Regions from separate parts of the Homo sapiens genome. Here regions 2 and 3 are each linked to region 1. The links are contacts of gene promoters, found by promoter capture Hi-C in human tissues and cell types (Jung and others, 2019). All regions are on one chromosome and are shown on one strand. Each heading gives the region's core, a stretch centred on a gene start or on the middle of the fragment in contact. The rest is flanking DNA. Distances are from core to core; before and after follow the strand shown. Region 1 holds the start of CYP2A13 (cytochrome P450 family 2 subfamily A member 13). Region 2 has its middle 51 kb from the start of CYP2A7. Region 3 has its middle 36 kb from the start of CYP2B6.

Region 1 (3,851 bases), core at 993-3,492:
CCCACCTCTTCCCCTCCAAAATCAACAAACAACTTTCCTCTGTCCCCTTTGTTCTCTGATCTTTGTTCCCTCCACACAGGTCTCAGAGCTCAGCATCCTAGAACACTTTGAGCAAGATGTCAGTCCTGGGGGGGCCAACCTCACCCACCTCCACTTGTCCACAGTTGGTGACCCAGAGGAGAGGTGCAACAGTGGAAGGTCCAAACATCAGAGCCTGTCCTGTGCCCATCTGGAGCCCCTCTCAGGGTCTGGCTGAGGCTCATCTCAGACCCACATAGGACCAATATCAACACCTGCCTCATGCTCATGTCAGAGCCCACTGGGACCAACCTCAGACCCTATATGGTGCCACTCTTATGCCCTCCTGAAGCAGGACTCTCTTATGCCCTCAATGACACCTGAGACAACACACAGAGCCCTCTTGGCACCAAACATGACTTCAATATTCTCCTGGTGTCAAGTTCAGTGCCAACTTGTTTCCCATCCTCGCATACACCTGGGGGCAGTCCCAAAGCCAACACGATGCCTTTCCCTCCCTGGACACACCTGATGCTGATATCAGAACCCGCCAATGTCATCAGTGTGTCCACTGCTGATGCCAGTCCCAGCACTCACCTCCTGCTAAGCCTGGCCTGCACTTGACTCCCAGGGTGATCTAGGCCAGTCAATGAAGGGGGGCGAGGAGAAAGTTCACATCCCAGCTCCCTCACTTACTCCCTGTGTGACCTCACTCAAGAGGATTTATGGAGTCTAGATCTGCTCATCTTCAAAATGAGGATGATCATGATGAACCAACCTCACTGTTACAAAGATTCAACCAGATCATACACACCTAGACTTAATCTTCCCATATATGACCATGCTCACCAAAGGGTAACTGTCCTGTTTACTAAGGAAGAATTTCCTTGAGGGAAGGACAGGAGGGCTACTCATCCCTTCTCCACTCACACCCACCCCAGGATCTGCCTCTGTGCCTAATACTGGAGTTTACCCCAATCTCTTCTGCGATTGTTCCCTCTGCCTACTAATAGTAGTAGCCCCTGACAAAGCAGGAATCGCCCTTAAAGGAGACTTAACTCACCCTCAAACGTGGTCTTCTCTTCCCAAACACTCCCTTTCCACTGGCAGGAAAACCAAATCCAGAAAGTGGAACTAAAGACGCAGAGCAAGAGAGATGGGAGTTCAGGGCCACTCACACATGTCCCCTGCCCACTGTCTGTTTTCTGTCCTCTGTAGATCTTTATATAAAATGAGAAACATAAATAACAATCATAGTATTAATAGGGATGATACAATCAATCTAGTGGGTTTCCCTAAGAATCTGGGTTGGAAACCAGTGGAGTTCTTCGTAAATTACAACCCTTGGGACACTTGAGATTTTTCCAGCATTTGAGGGTTGTTATTACTATTTCTCCAGACCTAGCCAATCCCCTCTGCCAACTGGTAACATGAGGTACTCTTCTCCACGTGTGGGGAAAGTTCCTCTGAAATATGGCTCTCGTCTTCTGCCCCTTTCCCAGCCAGAGATGGGCAGCGGAGGTTCTATGGCACCCATCCTGGCCTCACTCTGAGGTTCCAATGAGGATTCTGGGCATCAAGAGACAGCTCTGGGTCAAAGCAAAATCAAGTCAGTCCCTGGGCCCAGTGCTGGGCTGCTGGGCTTTCTGGGAGCACCTGCTGGGCTTGCTACACACTCCACCTCCCAGAAACTCCACACCCACAGCCCTGGGTCTTCCTAGCCCCAAGACTTTCAAGTCCATATGCCTGGAATCCCCCGTCCTGAGACCCTTAACCCTGCATCCTCCACAACAGAAGACCCCCAGATGCACAGCCACACTTCCATCTCACCCTAGTAAAACCCAGACCTTTGGATTCCTCTCCCGTGGAATGCCCAAATCCACAACTTTGGGGTGCATTCTCACTCCCAGATCCCAAATCCAAAGTCCAGGTGCTCCCCTGTGCAAATATTCCAAACTCCTCAGTTCCACAGTTTATCTGTTGCCCGCTCCTAAATCCACAGCCCTGCAGCAACCCTCCTGAAGTACCAGATTTAGTCTGGAGTTCCCCTCCCTGTTCAGCTTCCCTGGGGTCCCTCTCCTCCTCCCTTGCTGGCTGTGTCCTAAGCTGTGTGGGATTCAGGGTTGGGGTGTAGTTGGGAGGTGAAATGAGGTGATTATATAATCAACCAAAGTCCATCCCTCTTTTTCAGGCAGTATAAAGGCAAACCACCCCAGCCATCACCATCTATCATCCCACTGCCACCATGCTGGCCTCAGGGCTGCTTCTGGTGACCTTGCTGGCCTGCCTGACTGTGATGGTCTTGATGTCAGTCTGGCGGCAGAGGAAGAGCAGGGGGAAGCTGCCTCCGGGACCCACCCCATTGCCCTTCATTGGAAACTACCTGCAGCTGAACACAGAGCAGATGTACAACTCCCTCATGAAGGTGTCCTAAGGCAGGGAGATGGGTGGCACGGGGTGGGGGCTGCCCAGTTGGCTGGGGCTTTGTGGCAGGGGATTGACCAGTGTGGACCAGAGTCTTAGGAAAGGGAGTCTTGGAGTTTCAGCATCAGGGTCCTAGCAGGAAAGACAGGATCTTGGGATGTCCAGCTCCCTGACTGTGAGAACCTGGGGGCGAAGCATCCCAGTACATGATATCTCAGTGCTGGGCCCATTCAGAGTGGGGGCTGCTCCCTCTAACCACTCCCACCTGCCTCCAACAGATCAGTGAGCGCTATGGCCCTGTGTTCACCATTCACTTGGGGCCCCGGCGGGTCGTGGTGCTGTGCGGACATGATGCCGTCAAGGAGGCTCTGGTGGACCAGGCTGAGGAGTTCAGCGGGCGAGGCGAGCAGGCCACCTTCGACTGGCTCTTCAAAGGCTATGGTGAGGGGGTGCCCAAGAGGGGGAAGGTGGCCAGGTGGATGCAATGGTCTCCGTGTCCCCAGCCTTCTCCCTGACTCTCCTGCCCACTGGAGGCTATGGCAGAGCCCCCTGTCTGGTCTTCTCTCCCCATCTCCCTTCATCGTGGCCTCTCCCTGTGCGTCCCTCACCTGTCTCCAGCGTCCCTGTCGTGATTCCTCCCTGCCTCTCTCTGCCCCGTCTCCTCCTTCTCTCTCACTGGAGTCTCCTCTTTCCCCTCTCTCTCCATCTCTGAGGACATCCTGGGTTTCTGTTTTCCAGCCCTGGTCCTCTGTCTTCATTTGTCTTTTTGTCGCTCTCGGCTTCTGTGCTTCTCCGTGTTTCTCCTCTCTCTGCTTCCCTCTCCCACTTCTTCCTCTGTCTTAGGATTTCAGGGTATTCCTACTTCCACATCTCCAGCCTCCAACTCCTGGTAATTGTCTGTCCTCCTTCCCGATCCTCTCTGTTTCTGTCTCCATATTTTTCTCTCTTCTCCAGTTCAGCTTAAGAATCTTTCACCATTTTTATTTCCTCCTCCCAGATCTCCCCATATCTCACTTCCCCTCCCTCCATCTCTCTCTTTCTCTCCCCACTTCCTTCCCTTCCTCCATGGAGTATCCCCGTATCCCTCTGTTTCTCTGCATCTGTCTGTCTGGCCTTTCTGCTTCTCTTCTGATTCTCTTATTCTTTCTACCCGGTCTCTCTCTCTCTCTCTCTCTCTCTCTCTCTCTCTCTCTCTCTCTCTCTCTCTCTCTCTCTCTCTCTCGTGCTCTCGTGTTTCTCTGACTGAGTTTGCAGCTCTCCTGGGCACTCGCGCTGAATCCATCTCTCTCCCACCCCACTCCCTCTCTGCTCCACCCTTGGGGAGCCCCTTGGAGCTGGTCCGCTCCTGCTCCCGCCGCCCCCTGACCTCTCTCCACCCCCGCGTTCACCTCCCCAGGCGTGGCGTTCAG
Region 2 (3,851 bases), core at 851-3,350, 160 kb before region 1:
CTATCTGGAGACCAATCATGCCTCTATTAACAGAATTTGCTGCTCCTTCTAGCTCTTGGTATCTCACTGCCCCCTTTCTTTATGAGAGCTGGCATGGTCATTGAATATCCCAATCCTTTACAAATTCTGAAACAAGCAAAACTGTCAATGAAATTCATATTTGCCTAAAATGAGTTTTCAAAAGGATCTTTGTGGCTATCTTGTTAGTTCATAGAAAGTGGAGGCTTGTCAGGAACGATATTGAATTTTTCATTTAAATTGTTTTAGAGACAGGGTCTCAGTCTGTTACCCAGGCTGGAGTGCAATGGCACAGTGATAGCTCACTGCAACCTTGAACTCCTGGGCTCAGGAGATTCTCCCGCCTTAGCCTCCAGAGTAGCTGGGACTACAGGTGTGAACGACCATGCCCCACTATTTTTTTTTATTTTTGTAGAGACGTGTTGGGGGAGGGTCTCACTATATTGCCTTGGCTGGTCTTGAACTCCTGGCCTCAAGCAATCCTCCTGCTTCAACATCCCAAAGCATTGGGATAAGTTTTGAATAGACATGTTTGACCCTCTCCCCTTCTTCGTTGCAGCAAAGATTTCCATTTTCTCACAGGGAGGGCTTGGGGTAAATAGTTTGTTTTGTTGTTGTTGTTGTTGTTTGAGGATGTGGGTGGGTCATCTTGGTTAATGTCAGTGCAAGAACAGTGTCCGTTCCTCATTATTGGGGTTCCTTAGCCATCCAGGCAAGCAGTAGCTCCCTTGAGAAGACTTCCTGACCCCCAGGTCCCCACCATAGGCTCTCATACACCAGCTGCCCCTCCTTACTGAGCCTATGTCCTTGACAATGCTGCATTTACTTGTGATCCTGTGGCTGATCTCTCCCTCACACTTCCAGACAAGGAAGGCCTGCGAGGACTCACCACAGAGCTGAACATAGTGCCTGGTACACAATAGGCGTTTAGCAAATATGTGTATAGAAACAAATGAAGGAGTCAGTGAGTGAAAGCTCCAAGCCTGACTCAGCAGAACTGACAGTCGGCCGGGGCCTGCAAAGTGCTACCAGGCCCCCAGTAGGGGGTCGCAGATCTAAGGATCCCTCCCCACCAAATAGAGTCCCATCACATAGGTGAAGGTCTCAAGTGCCTATTGTTTTCTTTTCATCATTTTCCATGTGTCACGAGAATATCATGCTATCATGTGAATCAATGGACTTAGTTTTCCCACTAGAGTAATGTGTCTGGGAATTACCTGTGTTGTCATGGGGATTTTCTAGGTGTCATTTACAACTACCTGTGGACAAGGTGAGGTGCTACCCTCATCTTAGAAGTAGGGATGGTGGCCGGGCATGGTGACTCATGCCTGTAATCTCAGCACTTTAGGAGGCTGAGGCAGGCAGATCAACTGAGGTCAGGAGTTCGAGACCAGCCTAACTAACATGGAGAAACCCTATCTGTACTAAAAAAACACAAAACTAGCTGGTGTGGTGGCACATGTCTGTAATCCCAGCCACTCAGGAGGCTGAGGCAGGAGAATTGCTTGAACACAGGAAGCGGAAGTTGCCCTGAGCCGAGATTGCACCATTGCACTCCATCCTGGTCAACAAGAGTGAAATTCTGTCTCAAAAAACAACAACAACACAACAACAGCAATAACAAAAAAACAGTAGGGATGGAGATGCTCAGCCTGGGGAAAGCACTTGTCCAGTGGCACACAACTAGGAAAAGGAGAAGCTGAGCTCCAGCAGGAGGTCTGTCTCCAAAGCCCTCCTAGACTAAAGCTGCTTAACATTTTGTGGATTATGAAATCCTCTGAGAGTTTGATTAAAGCTGTGGCCCCCTCTTTTCCAAATAGGCACATACATGTTTGCATAAAGTTGTGAGGCTTCACAGACTCCCTAAAACTCTTTCATAAACCTTCCAAGGGTCCTCTAGGTATTCATGACCGTCTATTATGATTGCATCTCTTGGGGGTAGGGGAAAGAGGGAGGGCATGAGCAAGTGTGTGTCAAGGCTGAGGAAGGTGGCGCTGTTGCTTCTCCATTTCCCAATAAGCTTCCAGATTCCTTTTGGAGCCAGAGGGATGCGGGCTCGTGTCTCAGATTCAATTCTTATGCGTTGAGTCACAGTTTTCTCTTCTGTCAATTAAGACCATGACAATGAGAATGTGTGCCCCTAAGGTGGTTGTGAGAATTAAATGGGATATTGCATGCAGCTAGTATATAATAAGTGCTCATTAAATGGCAACTACCTTGATCCACTCATTCATTTATTCATGAATCCAATAACAATTCACTGGGCACTTTCTATGTACCAGGAAATATTCTATGAATTGATGATGTGGCATCTTGGACAAGACATACGAGGTAACACTGTGCTTATGGACATTCCATTGGTGGAGACAGATAAGCAAAAAATAAACAGATAAGGAAATGTTAGGTGGACAAGAGCTACGATTAAACTAAAGCAGGAGGATATTTCAGAAAGTGATGGAGAACTACATTAGATTGAGTGGTTAGGGAAAGACTCCGCCTTGCTTTGTTTCTTAGCAGGGACCAGGAAAGATTCAGGTGGAAGGTGCCAGAAGGAGGCAGGGTGGTTGCAAGAATCCTGAAGCAGGAAAAATCTCAGGGAACAACATGGAGGAATCAGTGGGAGGAGAAGTCAGAGAGGTGATGGGGCCACATCATGTAGGACCATGTCAACCACAGGTGGAGACTTCAGATCTTATTCTCAGCAAAGTTGGAGTATTGGAGGCCTTGGTGAGCACAGGGATATTAATTATTTTACATTTTAGTGGGGTTACCCTGGCTTGTGGGGCAGTGAAACAGTTGTTAAGGGGTCTAAGAATGTAAGGCAGGAGACCAGTGAAGGGGCTTTGCAGAGATCAATGCAGGGCATTTGTAAGTAAACTTAAACATTTTTCTAATTTTTATGTCAAGTTTTTATTGAAATTGAACATCACTATAAAAAGTGCACAGCTCAATGAATTTTCACAAACTGAACATACTCATGTAATTGACATGCAGGCCAAGTAGCAAGAGTCCCCCAAAACACCACACCCCGTCCTTTTCTAGTCACTATCCACCTACCATCTTGATCATGGGTTGATTTTGTCTGTGTTTGAACTTTTTTTTCTTTTTTGTGAGATGGAGTCTTGCTCTGTCACCCAGGCTGGAGTGCAGCAGCGTGATCTCGGCTCACTGCAACCTCCACTTCCCCACGCTCAAGGAATTCTCTTGTCTCAGCCTCCCGAGTAGCTGGGACTACAGGTGAGGGCCACCACGCCAGACTAATTTTTGTATTTTTAGTAGAGACGGGGTTTCACCATGTTGGTCAGGCTGGACTCAAACTCCTGACCTCGTGATCAGCCCGTCTCAGCCTCCCAAAGTGCTGGGATTACAGGTGTGAGTCACCATGCCCGGCCCTGTGTTTGAACTTCATACACATAAAATTATGATGCATGGACTCTCTTGTGTCTAGTTGCTTCCACTCAACATTATGCCTGTGAGTTTCAGCCACGTTATTGCATGTAGCTGTAGTTTGTTCTTTTTCGTTGCTGTATACTATTCTATTGTGTGAACTCTCACTGTTTCTCTATATCTGTGTTGATGAGTATTTTATAAAGAAAGCTTCTGTGAATATTTGTTCATTTTTTGGTGAACACACATACACATTTGTGCTGGGCATGTACCTGAGAGTGAAGTGGATGGTTTCCCAGTTATCCATTTGTTCAGCTTCAGGAAATACTGCCCAGCGGTTCCCCAAGTGGCTGCACAGTAATCCCACCTTATCCACCGGAGATATGTTCTGAGACCCCCAGTGGATGCCTGAAACCCCAAATAATGCTGAGCCCTATATATACTCT
Region 3 (3,851 bases), core at 789-3,288, 130 kb before region 1:
AACATACCTTAGACTGGGTAATTTATAAAGAAAAAGAGGTTTAATAAACTCACAGTTACACATGACTGGGGAGGCCTCACAATCATGCTGAAAGGCAAAAGTCACATCTTACATGGCGCTGGCAAGAGAGAGAATGAGAACCAAGTGAAAGGGGTTTTCCATTATAAAACCAACAGATCACATGAGACTTATTGACTAGTATGAGGACAGTATGGGGGAAACCACCCCTATGATTCAATGATCTCCCACCGGGTCCCTCCCACAACATGTAGGGATTATGGCAGCTACAATTCAAGATGAGATTTGGATGGGGACACAGCAAAACCATATCACCCAGACTGGAGTGCAGTGGTGTGATCATGGCTCATTGCGGCCTCCAACTCCTGGATTCAAGCAATCCTCCCATCTCAGCCTCCTGAGTAGTGAGGACTAAGTTTGTGATACCACCTCTGGCTAACTTTTAAATATTTTGAAAGGATGTAGTCTTGCTATTTTGCCCAGGCTGGTCTTGTACTCTTGGTCTGAAATGATCTCCCCATCTTGACGTCCCAAAGCACTGAGATTACAGGTGTGAGCCATTGCACCTGGCAGGTTCTCATTTACTTAATTATTACTGTTGTCATGGTTTGCTTTGGTCCCTGTGGGTTCCCCCACCCTCCAGAACAAGTGCCTGACATATAGTAGGGTTCACAATAAATATTTGTGGAGTAAATAAGAGCTGAGCCTTCAAGGGATCCAAAATACTTGCATGGAGTTTTTCTAGGTGGGTACAATGCCACCCAGCTGCATGACTATTTCAGGGTGTTCATTGGCTCCTTTGGGTGATATTTTGACATCTATATAAGAACTCCCACTTCTCCAAATCTGGGGGCCACATCTTTAGAGTTCTCAGCTTCCCGTCTGTCAGGAATGAAGGAGATAATATCACTGATTGGAGCCAGATTGTCTGGATGTTGAATCCCAGCTCCTTGCTGGTGCCCTTGAGAAGTGACTTAAGCCCTCTGTGTGCCTTATTTCTGCCTCTGTAAGCAGAGATCATCATAGCACCTCTAATGTGGGGCTGTTTGAAGATTCAGTGAGGTATGTGCAAAGAGCTTTTTGCACTTCCAAAAAGTGTCTGGGATATCATTGTGCACTGTAAGAATGCACTGTAACAATTATCATTGAGTCTTCTTGTTGGGATTAAAAGAGATCAGGTCTGTCAGGGCCTGGTACAGAAGTGGTATCAGAAAAATAATGACGTGCCGGCTGCTCACAAGGCTTCCCAGGCCAAGCTGGTGTGGGAAAGAGAGTTTCTGGAGTACCAGATGAGTTGGTCTCCCCTATGTGAGACACCCATGGGGAGCCATGGGCGGCCTCTGAGGAGAAAAGTCTCCTTATTGTCTTTATGTCTTTATGCTCCCAGAGCATACCTGCTCAGCGGCATTCCACAGGTTGCTCAGGGAGATAACACTTCCTTAAAGCAGTGAAGTACAATCAAACATCTTGGCTTCTTCTGAAACCCACTCCCACCCATTTCAGTCCTGATAAGATTTTAAGTAGTTTAGACACACGCCTTTGCTCAAGGAAATTCACAGAAACTGCCACTGCTCTACATCTTATTGAATAACTCACGAGTTCTCCTTCATTGATTAATCCTTTTTCTCATCCCTTCCTTGCCTTCTCATCTGCCCTAAGAACAAAGAGCTTGTAAGCCAATAAATTAGGCAGAGCCAAAGAGCTCTGGGCCATGAGCAAGCCTCTGACACTCTGGTCCCCCGGACCCACCTTTTAAATTCTCACTCTGTTTCTTTCTAACTCTTTAGTCTCCGTTGGACTCGCGGTACCTGCAGGGTGGTGTGGGGCTGGTTTCCCCAACATCTGGCGCCCAACGTGGGACTCCCCGTTATCTCTACAAATAATCTGGTGAAGGAATGCTAGAGCATGGAAAGTGGAAGATGACAGAAAAAGGGTGCCTGAATATGTTTTCACTTCAAGCTCTGTGGATAAGTAGTGTGCTTGGAGAATTCCACGGTAACCTCGGGAAAACGGGTCAGGCTGAGAGTAAATTTGCTAATTACTTAAGCTTGGTGTGGCAGTTATTGTGCCACAGAGGGGCAATTGTGAGTACCCAAAATCTCACATCTTTGTTCCAGCTCATAGAAAAGTATTCCCCTTGGTTCCCGGAATATGGAACCATGAATGTAAAAGACTGCGACAAGTTCGGAGCAGACTTAAAATGAGCACAACAAGAGGGCTACAATATTCCCTTGTCTGCTTGGTCTGTGTGGTCAGCAATCAAAATACCACTGGAGCCTTTCCACACTGAGGAGGATGAGAAGTTTCAGGATGACATAGAAAAGTTTAATAATCAGGAGTTTGATGATCTGCAAAGTGAACCATCACAGTTTAGTTTTAAAAAGGGGGAGAAAGGGATATATGCTAACCTCCAAAAACTTATAGAAGAAACATTTCCACCTACTGCAGAAACAGTGCCACCCACTGCGCCTTTAGGGGAAGGTCCAGAATGGCCACCCCCGCCTCAGCCTTATGAATTTTTGGAATGGGAGCCTGAGACATGACTTGCTGCTCCCATTGTTGCATGCCCCACAATTAACTATGTTGAAGGGAAGCTTCAGGCTCACCCAACAGCCAATTATGGTGAGGGAATGATCCAGGCTTGTCCACCTTTTAATTATGGTAGAGGAATGCTGTGAGCAGGTCCAAATACAAATTACGGTGCAGGGACAATCCAGGCATCTATTTACCAGGCATGAGATGTGGGGGATTTGGATGCTTGGCAGTTTCTGGTAATTATTTCTCCAGCTGAGGAGCCCAGACAACATGCTGAAGCATGCTGGGAGCCATTTCCTTTTAAAATATTAAAAGACTTAAAGCAAGCAATTGGACAATATGGGCCAAATTCTCCTTAGGTTCATTCCTTGTTACAATCTGTGGCTTATAACAGGCATTTAATACCTATGGATTGGGAGGCATTAGCCCACTCTACCCTGTCCCCCACTGAGTTTCTCCAATTTAAAACCTGGCGGACAGATCAAGCAACAACAAATCAGGCATGCAGAAATGCTCAAGCCCAACCTCCTGTTAATATCACATCTGATCACTTGCTTGGAATCAGACAGGCATGGGGTACTCTAAATTGACAGATGGTAATGGGTGATGAGACTGTTGATCAGCTCAGAACTATATGCCTCAGAGCCTGGGAAAAAATTCACGACCCTGGTACTACTTATACTTCTTTTAACTCAGTTCAACAGGGTCCAAAGGAGCCTTATCCAGATTTTATCACCCATTTGCAAGACACGGCTCAAAAGGCTATTTTGGATTCTCATGTCAGGAAAGTGATAGTTCAGCTGCTTGCTTATGAAAATGCTGATACAGAATGTCAGGCAGAAATTAGACCTATTAAGGGAAAGGCAGATCTAAATGAGGAAAAAACTTTAAGTGAATACATTAAAGCCTGTGATGGCATTGGAGGCACTTGAATAAGGCCAGCCTTCTTGCTCCGGCAATGGCTAGACTAAGGGTAACAAAAAACATATGAGTGTTCCCCAGATCTTGCTATAATTGTGGACAGATAGGACATACAAAAAGAGAGTGTACAAAAAAGGCAAAACTTAGGAGGAAAAAGCAGGGAACCAGGTACCTGTCCCAGATGTAAAAAAGGAAAACACTGGGCTAATCACTGTCATTCAAAGTTTGATAACAGCGGACAGCCCTTGCCAGGAAATGGACAGAGGGGCCAGCCACAGGCCCTAATTCAAAATGGGGCATTCCCAATTCAGGACAGGACGTCCCTGACTACAAATGGGGTGTTCCCAGCCCAGTCTTTCCCTGTACAAATGTGCAGC

What was found. The method cuts DNA at HindIII sites, captures the fragments that hold promoters and counts their contacts. A contact is called where the count stands out against the background at its distance.
Region 2: a contact is called between a fragment that was not itself captured here and the fragment with the promoter of CYP2A13 in region 1, in 2 of the 25 tissues and cell types used here (H1 embryonic stem cells and dorsolateral prefrontal cortex).
Region 3: a contact is called between a fragment that was not itself captured here and the fragment with the promoter of CYP2A13 in region 1, in 2 of the 25 tissues and cell types used here (H1 embryonic stem cells and pancreas).

The regions. Positions count from the first base shown.
Region 1 is chr19:41,086,209-41,090,059 of GRCh38, forward strand. It overlaps CYP2A13 (cytochrome P450 family 2 subfamily A member 13), which reads left to right and starts at 2,243. Exons shown (of 9, transcript NM_000766.5): 1 at 2,243-2,443; 2 at 2,721-2,883; 3 at 3,839-3,851. The coding sequence starts at 2,264. The HindIII fragment of the contact is 9,937 bases long and covers 1-3,851 here.
Region 2 is chr19:40,931,207-40,935,057 of GRCh38, forward strand. It overlaps the pseudogene CYP2B7P. Among named protein-coding and RNA genes, the nearest start is that of CYP2A7, 51 kb to the left of the region's middle. The HindIII fragment of the contact is 3,944 bases long and covers 129-3,851 here.
Region 3 is chr19:40,952,895-40,956,745 of GRCh38, forward strand. No RefSeq gene overlaps it. Among named protein-coding and RNA genes, the nearest start is that of CYP2B6, 36 kb to the right of the region's middle. The HindIII fragment of the contact is 3,838 bases long and covers 120-3,851 here.